Linked DNA regions of Homo sapiens: region 1 is linked to region 2. Evidence: promoter capture Hi-C in human tissues and cell types (Jung and others, 2019). All regions are on one chromosome and are shown on one strand. Each heading gives the region's core, a stretch centred on a gene start or on the middle of the fragment in contact. The rest is flanking DNA. Distances are from core to core; before and after follow the strand shown. Region 1 has its middle 31 kb from the start of FGF20. Region 2 holds the start of MICU3 (mitochondrial calcium uptake family member 3).

What was found. The method cuts DNA at HindIII sites, captures the fragments that hold promoters and counts their contacts. A contact is called where the count stands out against the background at its distance.
Region 1: a fragment that was not itself captured here is called in contact with the fragment with the promoter of MICU3 in region 2 in 1 of the 25 tissues and cell types used here (dorsolateral prefrontal cortex).

What each region holds. Positions count from the first base shown.
Region 1 is chr8:16,970,234-16,972,933 of GRCh38, reverse strand. No RefSeq gene overlaps it. Among named protein-coding and RNA genes, the nearest start is that of FGF20, 31 kb to the left of the region's middle. The HindIII fragment of the contact is 5,468 bases long and covers 1-2,700 here.
Region 2 is chr8:17,025,790-17,028,614 of GRCh38, reverse strand. MICU3 (mitochondrial calcium uptake family member 3) reads right to left here and starts at 1,377. Exons shown (of 15, transcript NM_181723.3): 1 at 955-1,377. The coding sequence starts at 1,335. RefSeq lists an enhancer at 750-839 and a silencer at 990-1,399. The HindIII fragment of the contact is 10,669 bases long and covers 1-2,825 here.

The DNA of each region.
Region 1 (2,700 bases), core at 73-2,572, 56 kb after region 2:
AAAGAAATAACGGTCTTGGAGACGTATTAGAGCAAAAAGTGCAGAGGTCAAGGACAGTATTTCTTAGAAGCAATGTACCTTTGGAATCAGTATGGGTGCCCTTGTCAAGGGCTGGTCTCCAGCAGGGCAGCACAATCTGTGATGGCTTCATATCTCTTTGGAGATCAATATGACTCTCTATTGACTGTACTGTTTCCATTTAAGAATGGAAATCTCATTTGCTCATTCCTCCTTGAGAGTAATGAGGTTTCAGGTATAAGGCAATTAATGGGGGTAGCAAAAGAATTTGATGTTCTGTTTATGAACTGCTGTTTTAACTATGGCACAGTAAGTGGCTGGCAATTGTCTTTCAAAATGAGAACACTATTTGGCAGACTTGACAGCTTTGTCATTTGATTTGGGACATGCCGATGGCTCCACATCAAGGGCAGAGAGGTCAGAAAGTTGCTTGTGCAAGCTTTAAGGCATTTTGTTGTTCAGGATGCTGTGCAATTGAATGATGAGACTACAGCATAACACCCAGATGTGTCACTATCCACACATGACACTTGTTTCTTTGCCTCCTGTTTGGTGATGTGGCTCTCAAGGATAAAATTTTTGTCTCATTCAGTGCATAGTTTGTTTGCTCCAAATAATGCTACTCTCACAAATGTTGTTTGGTGAAGGGCCCTTGAATTTTTTTCTTGTTAATTGTTCTAGCATTTTTAGTCATCAAACTAACGAGGAAAGACAGAGTTCAGTTATGATTATTTCTGACTGCTGATCAATATGACATCTATGAAAAGGATGAAATTTCTCCTTGAATTATGGCAAGGCTCCTGTTTAAACTTTACCTTGTTAGATTATAATGCAGTGTTGGAGAGTTTATTCCTGTAGTAGTACAATAAAGGTATAATTCTTCAACATCCATCCCTATTATATAGTTTGGTGAACTTCTAATGGAACTTGGTACCTTTTTTTTTATTATTATACTTTAAGTTTTAGGGTACATGTGCACATTGTGCAGGTTAGTTACATACGTATATATGTGCCATGCTGGTGTGCTGCACCCACTAACTCGTCATCTAGCATTAGGTATATCTCCCAATGCTATCCCTCCCCCCTCCCCCCACCCCACAACAGTCCCCAGAGTGTGACGTTCCCCTTCCTGTGTCCATGTGATCTCATTGTTCAATTCCCACCTATGAGTGAGAATATGCGGTGTTTGGTTTTTTGTTCTTGCTATAGTTTACTGAGAATGATGGTTTCCAATTTCATCCATGTCCCTACAAAGGACATGAACTCATCCTTTTTTATGGCTGCATAGTATTCCATGGTGTATATGTGCCATATTTTCTTAATCCAGTCTATCATTGTTGGACATTTGGGTTGGTTCCAAGTCTTTGCTATTGTGAATAATGCCGCAAGAAACATACGTGTGCATGTGTCTTTATAGCAGCATGATTTATAGTCCTTTGGGTATATACCCAGTAATGGGATGGCTGGGTCAAATGGTATTTCTAGTTCTAGATCCCTGAGGAATCGCCACACTGACTTCACAATGGTTGAACTAGTTTACAGTCCCACCAACAGTGTAAAAGTGTTCCTATTTCTCCACATCCTCTCCAGAACCTGTTGTTTCCTGACTTTTTAATGATTGCCATTCTAACTGGTGTGAGATGGTATCTCACTGTGGTTTTGATTTGCATTTCTCTGATGGCCAGTGATGATGAGCATTTTTTCATGTGTTTTTTGGCTGCATAAATGTCTTCTTTTGAGCAGTGTCTGTTCATGTCCTTCGCCCACTTTTTGATGGGGTTGTTTGTTTTTTTTCTTGTAAATTTGTTTGAGTTCATTGTAGATTCTGGATATTAGCCCTTTGTCAGATGAGTAGGTTGTGAAAATTTTCTCCCATTTTGTAGGTTGCCTGTAACAATTGGCCTTCCAAAAGGGAATCTCTAGAGCAGCCTAGTATCACCACAGTTGTAAATATGAAATAGTACCTACAACCTACAAAAAGCTACTATTTCATATTTACAACTGTGGTGATACTGGGCTGCTCTAGAGATTCCCTTTTGGAAGGCCAATTGTTAGGCTCCTACTCTTTAACTTTTTGAGAAGAAGGTTCTTACCTTTCCTAAAATTGCAATGAATTCCTTGCAATTACACATTCATGGAAAGGAGATACCACCCCAGGAAAAATTCTCTACCCAGCAATTATAACCCAGCAACTTCAGCCACTTTTTCTCCACATCCTTCAATAGTCAAAAGAATTTCTGTCCTTGTATTCAAGCTTCCTAGAATTAATGTTATCTTTGATCCTGTATCTGAAATTTCCTATATTCTTGAATATTGTCCTTCATTCAAAGCAGTCATAAGGTTTAGGGTCTCTCCAGGCAGATCAGAGGTTTAATAGACCTGCATGTTAAGGACTTTGGGACAATTTGTCCTTCCCTATGGGAGGCTGGGCTTGATCTCTCAGACTTTAAGGCCAGGTTTCTTAAATTTAGAGAGATCAGGAAAAAAATCAAAGAAAATGCTTTAGGTGCTGTCTGTTTTTCTTGTGTGGGGAGGAGTTTATCCTTAAGATTTACAAAGTCCTTGTCTCAGTGTTCCCTCTCTTGGCTCCACTCCCAGTGATTTTGAAGTGGCTAGTTACTATCTGTGTGGAGGATTTGCTAGGGATGTTGCCATGGCTGCTATGCCTGCAAGTTTAGCTGA
Region 2 (2,825 bases), core at 128-2,627:
ATTAAGAACAAAGCCTATAAAAATTGCATTAGAAACAGCATAGCTCTCTGTTTTCTAAATTATTTTCATCTACGCCGTTCACATTCTTCGAGCCTTGCAAGGAAAATCTCCTTAATTTTCCTAGTCATTTACATGACTATTAAATATACTGATGCGACAAAAAAAATCACGCTCCTTTACTCACTGTTGCCTTTCACACATCTTTACCTTGTATTATTAACTACATAATGACAGTTGAACATTTTCACGTGACTTTCTTCTGTAGGAGTTTGTGTCATTCACAGCCTCCTACATTTGCTATCCTATCCATTTTGTGTTTTATCGTTACCTACTAACGGGATTCTGGCTTTAGTGGGGGAAGGAAAAAGAGAGAAATACTTATGTCTCTTTTTGAACAATTTTTTATTTCTTTTCAGACCTGGTAACATCAACATTCCCTGGGTATGATAAGGGCGTTAGCATGCAGGTTTAGCATTTCCTTTCTTGGGACTAATAAATTCTCATATGCTAAAGTAGTGGCTTTTGAGATCTCAGACCGCTGCTTCGAAACTCATTCTAATGCAACAGACCTCCTGGGTCATTAGCTGTCGCCCCGCGCAATCTAGGAGTTCCTTTTTCCCACACCTACAGCGGTCCACTTTCTGCCTGTCATGGCCTTCATTTCTGAATCTTTTTTTGTAAGAGGGGGAGGGGTGTTGGTTTTGGGTTTGGATTGATACTTGGTAGCTGCAGCCACCTTTAAGGTCCTGATGCATCAGGGACAGCATCACTGGTCTTCCCAATACGTGGGTGACCGGATCCTAGGCTGTCCGGCCTAGGTGTCAGCCTCGCTCACGGGAAGTTCCTCACCCGCGGCCACAGCGCTTGCACCGTCCCCACAGCCTCCAGGGTCCTGCGTACCCGGCACGAAGGTCACATCCCCCGCGCAGGTGTGACGCGCGCTCGCGCACTCACCGTCTCCTTGGCAGCCGCCACTGGGATGGGCAGCATCCCCCGGCCGCGGGGCGGGTCCTCGGGCTCCGTGGCCGCGCTCTTTGAGGGTCGCCCGGTCGCCGGCGAGCCGGCCCTGGGGTCCCCGTACAGCTGGTAGCATACCAGGCCGACCAGCCCCCCGCCGGCCGCCGCCGCCACGCTCAGCTCCCCCCAGCGCCGCCGCCGCCTCCATGCCGCCTCCGCCACAGCCCTCTCCTCATCCTCTCGGGAGGAGAAGGGCCGGCCAGGAAGGCCCAGGGTGGTCACCGCAGGCCGCCCCCACGGCCCAAGGAGGGGCTGGTGAGCGCAGAGTGGAGGAGACACCCGGGGTGGCGGCCACAAGAGCCTTCGCAGCGCAGCCATAGCGGAGGCCGCCCACACCAGAGCTGGGAGGGGGCAGAGAACGGAGGGGCGGGGGCGGGGGGGGGGGTCGCCGAAATCTCGCGAGAAGTCGGTGCCGCGAGCTTCGCGGCCGGCCGAGAGCGACCCCTACACTCGCGCGGCCCCGGGGACCCGCGACGCCACCTTCAGCGTAGCGGTCCCGTGGTTCGGCCCGGGAAGATCATGGAAGAGGCGGCGGATCCCGGCTGCTCCCCGGCCCCGAACCCCCAGCCCAACCACGCAGTCATAAATAACCGCGCCAGCCCGGCGACACCTGGCTACGCGACAGCGCGACACTGCGGGCACAGCCGAGTCAGCGTAACTGAGGCGCGGCCGAGTGCGGGGCTCTCTGGGGCCCGCGCCGCTGCTACGGGCGGGGTGGGTCTCCGAGCTGGGCTCAGCGCCCGTCTGGGACACTCACATTCCCTAACGGTCTCCTGACCTCAGGAAACTCAAGGTCTTGACTCAAGGTCGTGAACGATTTGCAATTGTATCTTCACATATACGACACAAATGAGGTATAAGCATTTGGCTCAAGTCATAACGATTGCAAATTAAGGCAAACACTTTGACGACTGAAGGGCAGCTTCCGGACTTTTGATGGGAGAAGGCTAATGCTGTTTTTTAGAAGCATTAGCACACCCGCGGTCACTTAATTCAACAAATCAGAACTGTCTTGTGCATATAAAAGTTAAAAATTTTAAAACTTCTGTGAATAAAGATAAAATCTTGAACGATACCCTGATTTTTCAGGGAAGCGCTGTTTGTATAAATATAAAATAAATGAGAAGCGTATTGTGTCATCTTTTTGTTTTTACTGTACTTTTTGTTTGCTATGTTATCAGTATCAGTTTTTATGAGAAAGTGTAGATGAAGTTCCTATCAGTTTCTCTCCCCAGACCCCAGTTTTGGTAACTTGAATTATGTTAGCTTTTTCTTCCTACTATGGAATGGTGCCAGGAGTCCCTAAAATATTGTGGATCTAAGGGGACAGACAACTAAATACAGTGGTCTCAATTGGGCTGCAGTGACAAGAGAATACACCATCAGTTGATTCTGGCAATTCTTGTAAAGACTAAAGGCTTTCAGAGACGACCAAATGAGTTTTTTCTGGCTCAGGTCCTACAATTTCTTCCCTTTTTTTTTTCTTTTTTTGAGACGGAGTCTTGCTCTGTTGCCCAGGCTAGAGTGCAGTGGCACATTCTCGGCTCACTGCAACGTCCGTCTCCCTGGTTCAAGCGATTCTCCTGCCTCAGCCTCCCGAGTAGCTGGGATTACAGGCACCCGCCACCGTGCCTGGCTAATTTTTGTGTTTTTAGTAGAGATGGGGGTCTCACCATCTTGGCCTGGCTGGCCTCGAACTCCTGGAGGTCCTGCAATTTCTATTCCTAACACCTTGCATGTAAATAGCACATCAGGTACACCCTGTTACCTCTTATTTTAATAGAGGTTAATGGCATTTTGCTTTCTTA